2 separate regions of the Homo sapiens genome follow, and region 2 is linked to region 1. The links are contacts of gene promoters, found by promoter capture Hi-C in human tissues and cell types (Jung and others, 2019). All regions are on one chromosome and are shown on one strand. The core of a region is centred on a gene start or on the middle of the fragment in contact, and the rest is flanking DNA. Distances in the headings are between cores, read along the strand shown. Region 1 holds the start of LONP2 (lon peptidase 2, peroxisomal). Region 2 overlaps ITFG1 (integrin alpha FG-GAP repeat containing 1).

What was found. The method cuts DNA at HindIII sites, captures the fragments that hold promoters and counts their contacts. A contact is called where the count stands out against the background at its distance.
Region 2: a contact is called between a fragment that was not itself captured here and the fragment with the promoter of LONP2 in region 1, in 3 of the 25 tissues and cell types used here (dorsolateral prefrontal cortex, heart left ventricle and spleen).

What each region holds. Positions count from the first base shown.
Region 1 is chr16:48,241,048-48,246,642 of GRCh38, forward strand. LONP2 (lon peptidase 2, peroxisomal) reads left to right here and starts at 3,253. Exons shown (of 15, transcript NM_031490.5): 1 at 3,253-3,574. The coding sequence starts at 3,342. All of the region lies in intron 1 of ABCC11 (ATP binding cassette subfamily C member 11), which reads right to left. RefSeq lists an enhancer at 3,189-3,278. The HindIII fragment of the contact is 28,002 bases long and covers 1-5,595 here.
Region 2 is chr16:47,447,784-47,453,378 of GRCh38, forward strand. It overlaps ITFG1 (integrin alpha FG-GAP repeat containing 1), which reads right to left. Exons shown (of 18, transcript NM_030790.5): 4 at 4,950-5,007; 5 at 3,613-3,687. It also overlaps the pseudogene RNA5SP424. Among named protein-coding and RNA genes, the nearest start is that of ITFG1, 10 kb to the right of the region's middle. The HindIII fragment of the contact is 5,293 bases long and covers 916-5,595 here.

The DNA.
Region 1 (5,595 bases), core at 2,003-4,502:
CCTCAGCCTCCCAAGTAGCTGGGATTACAGGCACGCACCACCACACCTGGCTAATTTTCTGTATTTTTAATAGAAACGGGATTTCACCATGTTAGCCAGTCTGGTCTCGAACTCCTGACCTCAGATGATCCACCCATCTCGGCCTCCCAAAGTGCCGGGATTGCAGGTGTGAGCCACTGCGTCCAGCCCACAACATCTCTTTCATGGTATTTGGCCCCAAAATGCATATCATTGATCTAATCGTGAGAAACAGTAGATAAACTCCAATTGAATGAACTTCTACAAAATAACTGACTGATATCCTTCAAAAGTATCAAGGTTTTCCCACTGCTCAACGAAATAAAAGAGGACACAAACAAATGGAAGAACATTCCATGCTCATGGATAGGAAGAATCAATATCGTGAAAATGGCTGTACTGCCCAAGGTAATTTATAGATTCAATGCCATCCCCATCAAGCTACCAATGACTTTCTTCACAGAATTGGAAAAAACTACTTTAAAGCTCATATAGAACCAAAAAAGAGCCGGCATTGCCAAGACAATCGTAAGCCAAAAGAACAAAGCTGGAGGCAACATGCTACCTGACTTCAAACTATACTACAAGGCTATGGTAACCAAAACAGCATGGTACTGGTACCAAAACAGAGATATAGACCAATGGAACAGAACAGAGCCCTCAGAAATAATACCACACATCTACAACCATCTGATCTCTGACAAACCTGACAAAAACAAGAAATGGGGAAAGGATTCCCTATTTAATAAATGGTGCTGGGAAAACTGGCTAGCCATATGTAGAAAGCTGAAACTGGATCCCTTCCTTATACCTTATACAAAAATTAATTCAAGATGGATTAAAGACTTAAATGTTAGACCTAAAACCATAAAATTCCTAGAAGAAAACCTAGGCAATATCATTCAGGACATAAGCATGGGCAAGGACTTCATGACTAAAACACCAAAAGCAATGGCAACAAAAGCCAAAATTGACAAATGGGATCTAATTAAACTAAAGAGCTTCTGCACAGCAAAATAAACCACCATCAGAGTGAACAGGCAACCTACAGAATGGAAGAAAATTTTTACAATCTACCCATCTGACAAAGGGCTAATATCCAGAATCTACAAAGAACTTAAACAAGTTTACAAGAAAAAATCAAACAACCCCATCTAAAAGTGGGCAAAGGATATGAACAGACACTTCTCAAAAGAAGACATTTATGCAGCCAACAGACACATGAAAAAATGCTCATCATCAGTGGCCATCAGAGAAATGCAAATCAAAACCACAATGAGATACCATCTCACACCAGTTAGAATGGCAATCATTAAAAAGTCAGGAAACAACAGGTGCTGGAGAGGATGTGGAGAAATAGGAACACTTTTACACTGTTGGTGGGACTGTAAACTAGTTCAACCATTGTGGAAGACAGTGTGGCAATTCCTCAAGGATCTGGAACTAGAAATACCATTTGACCCAGCCATCCCATTGCTGGGTATATACCCAAAGGATTATAAATCATGCTGCTATAAAGACACACACACACGTATGCTTACTGCGGCACTATTCGCAATAGCAAAGACTTGGAACCAACCCAAATGTCCATCAATGATAGACTGGATTAAGAAAATGTGGCACATATACACCATGGAATACTATGCAGCCATAAAAAAGGATGAGTTCATGTCCTTTGTAGGGACATGGATGATGCTGGAAACCATCATTCTGAGCAAACTATCGCAAAGACCGAAAACAAAACACTGCAAGTTCTCACTCATAGGTGGCAACTGAACAATGAGAACACTTGGACACAGGGTGGGGAACATCACACTCAGGGGCCTGTCGTTGGGTGGTGGGGAGTGGGGGGGAAGGGATACCATTAGGAGATATACCTAATGTAAATGACGAGTTAGTGAGTGCAGCAAACCAACATGGCACATGTATACATATGTAACAAACCTGTACGTTGTGCACATGTACCCTAGAACTTAAACTATAATAAAAAATAAAATTAAATTAAAAACAGAAAAAAAATAAAAGTATCAAGGTTGTAAAAAAAAAAAAAATTGGACGGGCGCAGTGGCTCAGGCCTGTAATCCCAGCACTTTTGGGAGGCCAAGGCGGGCAGATCACGAGGTCAGGAGATTGAGACCATCCTGGCTAACATGGCGAAACCCCGTCTCTACTAAAAATACAAAAAATTAGCCGGGCGTGGTTGCGGGTGCCTGTAGTCCCCAGCTACTCGGGAGGCTGAAGCAGGAGAATGGCATGAACCCGGGAGGCGGAGCTTGCAGTGAGCCGAGATCTCGCCACTACACTCCAGCCTGGGTGACAGAGCGAGACTCCGTCTCAAAAAAAAAAAAAAAAAAAAAAAATTGAGGACTTGCCACAGATTAGAGAACACCTAGGAGATTTCATAACAAAACACCTAGGAGATTTCACAACAGGATCCTGGATATTGGATCCTGGACCAGATCCAATGAAGGACATTAGTGGGAAAACTGGCAAAATTTGGGTAAGGCCTATAGGTTAAACGATAATAATGTTAATTTCCTGGTTTTGATCATTGAACTATGATTATGTAAGATGATAACAGACGAAACTGGGTGAAAGGTATATAGGAACTCTGCTGTAGTTTTGTACATCTAAAATCAATTCGGGCCGGGCACGTTGGCTCACGCCTGTAATCCCAGCACTTTGGGAGGCCGAGGTGGACGGATCGCTTGAGGTCAGGAGTTAAAGACCAGCCTGGCCAACATGGTGAAATCCCCTCCCTACTAAAAATACAACAATTAGCTGGGTGTGGTGGCGGGCATCTGTAATCCCAGCTACTCGGGAGGCTGAGGCAGGAGAATCGCTTGAACCCGGGAGGCAGAGGCTGCAAGCCGTGGGTATCGCGCCATTGCACTCCAGCCTCCGCGACAGAGCGAGAATCTGTCTCAGAATAAATAAATAAATAAATAAATAAATAATTAGTTCGAATCAAAAGTTAAAAACACTTCAAGTATATGTAAAAAATCGAAGAAAACGTTAAAAACACTTCAAGTATATACAATTCAAATAAGATCATCCTTCCAAATATACTCTGTAAGTGAGGCGAAGGTCGCTGCACGCTTGAGTGCACGTCTTTCCGCATAGGTAGGACGCTCAAGTCTTACCGGGAGGCTCTCCTAGAGAGCAGCGCGAAGCCATGGCTTTTGGGCCCGGGGACGGACCGTAGCGCGTAGCCGGAAGCGGAGGCGTGGAGGCGGGTCTGAGGTTTGGTGACTGCGGGGCAGGCCGGGGGCAGCTGTCTGTCTGGCTCTTTTTGACAGCCCCCAGTGCGAAAGGCTGCCAGCATGTCATCAGTGAGCCCCATCCAGATCCCCAGTCGCCTCCCGCTGCTGCTCACCCACGAGGGCGTCCTGCTGCCCGGCTCCACCATGCGCACCAGCGTGGACTCGGCCCGCAACCTGCAGCTGGTGCGGAGCCGCCTTCTGAAGGGCACGTCGCTGCAAAGCACCATCCTGGGCGTCATCCCCAACACGCCTGACCCCGCCAGCGACGCGCAGGACCTGCCGCCGCTGCACAGGTAGGCCTGGCTGCCCCCGCGGCGGCGGCGGGCGGCGCGGCCTCCTCCGGGGACCTGGGCCCAGGCCACGGCCTGCCTTGAGCGCGAGGCTCAGTTCGGGGCGGCCTTCGCGGCTCGGTTCCGCCTCTCTGGTGCTATCACTTGCAAAATGGGGATGTCAGATACCTGCCCCATGACCATGAATGAGATCGTTCATGAAGTAGTGCCTGACACCTGGTGAAACTACGCAGTTCCCTACCGTTCTGGATAATTTAATTTGAATCCTCTTCCCCCTCTCCGCAATTCCTCGCCCTCGGTCTTCAGCCTCCTAGGCCAGTGCTTTTAACTTTCCAGGCCCTTTCTTTCTCCCCGGTGATCTCTGCCTTCACTTGCCTTCGCTTTTCACCTTTCTCCCCACTGCCCTTTACTCCTATCCGCCTCCCCTTTTCTGTCACCCATCATTTTTGTCCGCTGAGGCATTCTCTGCTCCGTGAGTTTTAACTTTTCCTGTTTCATTCCTAAACTGCACTATTTGTGGGTGCCTTTCTTCTATACTCCCTGCCACCCTTCTCCTTCTCCCCCTAATCCTTCTGTTTCCCTTTGTAAAGGGCCTTTACTGCTCACATTTTCGCTGGTCCCCCTTTCTGGAACTTTCCTAGCTTCTCACCTCTGCTCCTTCACTCATAACATTTCTTAGGCCCCAGGCTTACTACTATATTGCCCAGTACCCTCGCCCTATTGGTGTGACTTTGGGTGAGAGCTTTAACCTCTATTTCTTTTATTCTGCAATTTGGAAACTGACAGCATCCATCTCTTAGGCAAGTTATGAAGAATAAATTGAATAATGTGTATATTCCACTTTGCACCATGCATGATGGATGACTTTGCTGTCCAGTACTGTGTAGTGCATGTGGCTCGTCAAATTGAGATGATAGAATTGCCAGTTGTCCTGGTTTGCTGCGATTGTCTGTTTTAGCATTGAAAGTCCTATGTTTTAGCCCCTCCGTCCCAGGGAAACCAGGAGGTTGGTCACCCTAAATGTGCTGTAAGTGTACAATACACGCCAGATTTTGAAAAAACTTTTTGATTAATACATTTTATATGGATTAAATGTTGGAAAGGTAATATTTTGAGTACTTGGGGTTAATAAAATGTTAAGATTTCTGCTGTTTTTACTTTATAATGTGGCCACTAAAATTTTATATGTGGTCCACATTATATTTTTATTGGACAATGCTGGTATATCGTATGCTCTCAACAAGTATCTTCAAACTCACCTGCCAAGCACCCGCCTCCTATTCCTAACTCTACTGGAGGTGTTGTGTTTTCAGTTTAGAGCTTCTCCTTTCCTGGCAGTTATCCCTTATTTTTAAATTAGGGGTTCCTGACTCTGAATGGATTTCCGGAGGGTTGGACATGTCTTATTTTTCCTCAAAATCTTGTGACTATGTACATTTTTTTAGGAGAATCCTTTGCTTTCTTCAGATTCTCAAAGGAGACTGGTACCTCCCCCCACCCCCGTTAAAAGAAAGCAAAACAAAGCAACAAAGACCAACAAACCTTCCACAGCAGCCCAGTATTCATTTATATTGTAAAAGCCTTGATTTTCTCAAGCATGGAAAATATTTTGGCTCCCATCTGACCTGCTTTGGTTATTGCCTGAGTGGAATTGGTCACATTCCAAGTTTCAGTACTCTTTGATAAATTGTATTGGATTCTAGTTTCCCAACATACGACTCTGCTCCTTCTGCTTACTTTTCCCAAATTATTTTGCCTTCTGTGCCCAGGCACACTTAGTTCCCTGTCTAGGCAAGAGTGGTCATTATTAGACTTCATTTTCTTTCTACTGTGCATATGTATTGATTAGCCATGGGCACATTGTGAACTTGAAAAGTCGATTTAGTCACATTTTAAGTTTCACTATTTGTTGGTATTATTCTGGCAAGATTTTGGAAGGTTTTTATTATTTATTCATTTGTGTATTTTTTGAGACAGAGTCTCATTCTGTCTCCTCCGCTGAAGTGCAGTGGCGTGATCGTAGC
Region 2 (5,595 bases), core at 2,312-4,811, 790 kb before region 1:
ACTTTGAAAAGAAAAAGGTTAGGGTGAGAAACACTGGGAAAAGAAATTAATGTATCTCTAATAGCACAGTTCCTTTAGGAAAAGAGAAAAGTTAGAAAACTGATGTAACGTTTCCATGGAAATACTGATTAGAAAAAAATACCTGATCTCTCAGATTTTAATAGATTCCTTTTAACAATAGTATTAAAAATATGAATGTTGTATGGGATGAGAGGGAGGGTGCTGCCAGGGGAATCTGAAGAAAATATAAATGATCTCAAAGTTATCTTTTTTTGTTATGGGTATTAACGCTGATTACAAAGTCAAAAGCTGCCTTGAGTATTATTTGGTTTTATTTTGTGTTATAAACCTCATCATAATTTTCATATTCTTACTAAACAATAGATTTAAGTGATACAATGTCACACTTCATTAAAACAAATATTTATAATATTTTCTGTAATGTATCAGCAAACAAACAAAATCAACAGTAAAACTGAAGGGTGATTTAATAAATCAGTCATTGGTTATAATGTGAGAAAATATGAAAGGCTAAATGGAAAAATGCAGATTTATTTCTTCTGGATTGATAGTAGCTGACTACATTTAAATAGAGAATACAGTTTTTTTGATAATGGAGGGGCAAAATCTACCCACACAACAGTTAAAAATGATTGCTTTCAGTGCTACTTATACCACATTCAATATTTTCATGCGATCACTTGTGATGTAAACAGTGTACGGCAAAGTATATATCTGTCACATACCTACATTAATATCTCCAAGTATACAACTTGGGCCTGACCCAGAACGTATTTGAACTCAGTACGTGAGTCAGAAAATTTTTTTTTTTTTTTTTTTTTTTGAGTCAGAAAATTTTAACAGACCAACATTATATTTGGTTTTGACTAAAATTACAGGTACAAGTGTTTTCACTTCAACATTAAAAACAATATTCTGAATGAGTATGCAACATCAGTTTCCAATGTCCTCTTATAGAAAATGCTCATTATCAATAACGTCACATCACTGCAGAAGCTGCTGTGACACTTAACAGCTAGGTGTTATTTCTAAGTAATATGGCACATTATTACATTATTTCAAGTCATTATAAGTGAAGTTGAAGCTCAAACTGAAGTCTCACCTTTGACCATTTAACACACTTCAATTACCTCCTGAACCTCATTAGATGCAGTGAGTGCCCTTCCTGTCCCTGTTAGATAACCCCACTGTACCAATTATAAGGAATTCTTCTGCTTATCACCACTGCTGTTTAGACTGATCATCTGCACCTTTAGTCCAGCCAAACTGGTTGTGCTATCTCAGATTTGCATGTCTGCACTAAGCCAGGTTATAGCAAGGGCTTTCTGCTATAATTCTACAGAAGCATTTCACACTGAATTTAAAGATCATTGCATGCTTCCCAAACCAAAGCGCTGGTCAAATTCAATTAAAGATAATCTTGGGTTTGGCATATCCATAAAGCATAATATTTAAGTTGTAAAAGGTAGATTTCTTGATAAATAAAAGATTAGGCTGCCAATCAAGGTCACGTGAATAACCCAAAATGTCAATGCTGATGACTTTTTCACTTACTCACCTATGTACATATCTTATCTGTTGTTTATAAAACTGACATTGCTTAAACGTAGTTTTCATATTTTAGTAACATATTAATATTTGCTGCCACAGGGGCATATTCAGCTTTCTGTTGTCTGAACCATGATATTGTTAGACTACAGTCATTCTAAACAATGCAAATTTCTGTCAGCTTATATATCTTCAAACTGGCATCAGGACAAATCTTAGATGCAAACTTATCACTTAGATATGGTTAGCTACTATTGTTTAATTTGTAACTGAGGTTCAAATGACAGATATCCTAAAATACCAGAGTATTATTACTCTAGTATATTGGACCAGAATATAACATATAAAAAATAAAGTTGGACATGTCTTCAGGCATGATGTTTTAAAATCTGAACTTGTTCATGAAGCAGAGAAAAAAAAATCTAATATAGAATTAAGAACAAATAAAGAAGCTATGGCACAATTCCATAATATTCTAAATAGTTTTCTCGCAGATTAAGTAAAAAATCTGTACAGGTAATAGAAGTTTTATTAATACTTTGTGAATTATCAACAATAGCTGTTTCACTTTCAATTTCTAAAGGTCAAACTACATCAGATTAAAGATATTCCAATTATTTCCCTGACTAAAGTGAAGTTACCACAAAATAAAACAGGCCAGAAGTCACCATCACATCCTCAATCACATGCCTGCCTTTGAAGAGAGGAAAAGAAAGGACAGGGTTTTCTGAGCAGTCCCCATTTGCTGTGGAAGGAGCGGAGTGGTGGTGGGGAGTGGACTGTGTTTTCCCTGCACCCCACCTGCACTCAATTCCTCTTGGATACGGCCACAAAAGCAAATCAGGATCTCCTTCCAATTTGTCTCTAAAGCAAGACTCTCTTCAAGATATTTTTCAAATTTTGGAGAAAAAAACAGGTTTCTCATTCAGGATTCACAATAATTATTTCAAAGTTCACTATTACTAGCATCAAAGCACCCATATTCTTTATTAAAAACCTACAGAAAAAGTAATAGGTGATCTCCCATCCAAGCACTAACCAGGTCTGACCTTGGTTAGCTTCCGAGATCAGAAGAGATGGGGCGCGTTCAGGGTGGTATGGCTGTAAACCAGAAAAAGTAATAGGAAATGTTAAAGTGTCTCTTCAGAATACCTTAAAAATTTTCACAATTTACTCCTCTGCATACCTACAAATCACATTTCAAAAATGAATCATAAAAACAAACTATTTCTATAAAACACAAAGAGAAAAGTCACTAGAGTTCCAAGTAGCTGGGAAAGACAGATTGATAAGGGTGGTCCTTTGTACTTTCAGAAAGACAAAAAAGTAAATAAATGTGTTCTGTACTCTTGAACTAAACTTTACCTTATCAGATACAGAAAAAAAATTAACCGGGTTGAAGGTATCTTATGAAAAGTATCTTGCTATCAGGAATTCTTGTGCTACGAGACCAGTTCTATTTAAATCCAGAGTAATTACAATGGATATCTTGGAATTGCAAGATTCCAGGCACTTTTCCCTAAGAATTGCATACTTAGATAGTAAGAGAGGCCTAGCACACATACTGGTGAAGGACAATGTATTCACTGACAAGTTTCCAGAGCTTAGAGGAGTGCTTATATTACTAGACCGTTATTGACTGCTCACTGAACAAATGACAGAAAGAAACAAATCTTATCAATTAAAGTCTAGCAGCTAACATGACTAAGGTACTAAGATAGGGAGGATCCACTCAAGACTGCAGGTATCCTCCCTATTTACGTGAAATCTATCCATTTCAAAAACATTTAATGAACCAATATTTAAATGGGGACCCGTAAAGTTTCAATCTCTAATTTTTCAAAGAGATAAAAGGAGTAAGCTGGCCCTTGGAAAGCAGGTGCAGGCCAAATCCAAACTATTTGAGAAAGCTTATATATATTAACCAAATGCCCACTTAAAAATCTTTAAAAACAAGGATTCCAATGAGCTATTTTTTCTCCAATGGTTAAAGTAGAAGCAATATATACGATTAATTACATAGTTATAACCATATTTACTCACCCTCCTAATAGTATCTGTGGCTGGTTGGATTCATTTGTGATACCAAAAATATCAGGAATTAGATCACCATTGAAACTGAAAAAAAATTAAAACAATAAGCAGCTATTTCTTTAAATTCTTACTTCTAATTTAGCTTTAAAAGAAGCAGTAACTTTTGGGAAGTGTGGTAGACATTACAATGCTCGCCAGTATCTAGTGATAAGTATTAAGTCAAATGTCAGCACAAGTGACATGTGTCACTTTTAGGCCAAAGTGTATAATTTCTGTTACCAGCCCCTCCAGCCCTCTCCAGGCTTGCCATGGCAATGAGAAGGCATTGTGATTCAGATGGACTAGCTACAAAGACAGTGGGCTCTCTGATGGCCTGACTCTAAGCAACAGCACAGAGCAGAGCCTGTTGTTGACCCACACTGGACATATAGTAAGAGCAAGAAATAAATTCGTTTTGTGAGATTTTGGGTATCTCTGTAATCTTTGCATTATCTAGACTACCCTTGAATGATAAGGATACAGCACTAATTCCTAGAAACTTACTTCAGAATCCTAAGCCAACTTGTTTACTTAGATGGGCTTAGGAGAAATAACCTAGAAAAATAATCCTAGTTGGTATAAAACTTCATACTGGCCATTGAATATTTTAACAACAATGAAAAAATACACAACTATGAAAGAAATCTAGCGGGGCACCGTTAAGAAGATTAATCCATGGATTTACAGTTCAGACTTCTAATGGCCACTGACACACTGCTGTATGGGTATGATTTTAATAACTGTAAGAAAGACAGTACTGGAAACAAGAATGTGGCCAAACTTTGCTCTAGTCCCGGGAATGATCTCGACCTCTACCAAAATACGCTGTCAGAAATTTGCAAATCCAAATTTACATCAATTATTTAAATCAATTATGCTGGTACATGAGTCTACAGTGAGAATATAAATGATAACACAAAGCAGGAGTTATATTATAAAAAGAACAAAAATTTCTCCTTAATATAGGAATCTTTCTAAATTTCTAGAGGAAACTGTATCCTAAATATCAAATATAACAGTTTTACTCAAAAACAGGTATCTTAATTCTTTCAGTAATGACAGCATAGATCCATAATGGACACATTTGAAGCGACTGAAATAAAAACACAAATCTCTTCTACTTTCCAAAATAATAAATTTCATTTTTCTTTGTCCTATCTGATGGCAAATAAATACAATATAATCAAAGGTACAGGCCTCTGAGTGAATTTAGTATTTTTATTACTAAGCAAAGTAGTTTCCTATGTGAAGATTTTATTTTATGTTTAAGTTTAAAATCGTTTCAAAGGAAGCAAGCCCATACTTACTCCATAATTAGTGGCTCATCTTGAAAAGTCCTATTGAGTATGGTCATATTGTTAGGATCTGCAAAAAAGATATATATATATATGAATTAGCAGGCATTTTATATTACTTTTGATATCTATGCTTAGGAAAAAATATTCTTCTACTCTTTTCTAGATTTATCTCTGATTTATTCCAACTATTATCATTAATGAGATACTATAAATCTAGTTCAAATGAACATCAAGCTTGCAAAGACAAAATATTGGGAGAATACATTCTACAGTGAAGACTAGCATTACAATAACCTCCTTTTGAGGTATGCATCTAAATATTTGCTAGCTGAGTCTTTGTCTTTACACAATTTAGTGCTAGAGAGGTTGACAATTAACAAGGTTTTGGTGTAAAGAAGGCCACATATGCAAAACTTCCTGGTTCTAAAATGTACATGCTTATATACAAGCTTTGTGCATGGTACTCCCTCTGTAAATATTTATTGACTTAATGAATATAATGTATCGCGATTACTGTTTACATTCCCAAATGGTGCAGAAAACATGACTGAAATTTGGCTCCATGAACAAAGTTGCCTATTTAGGTATAACTAATTGGCTTTTCAGATAAGGCTTGATGATTTGTGACTAGGTATGGTAGACTGACTCTCGAACC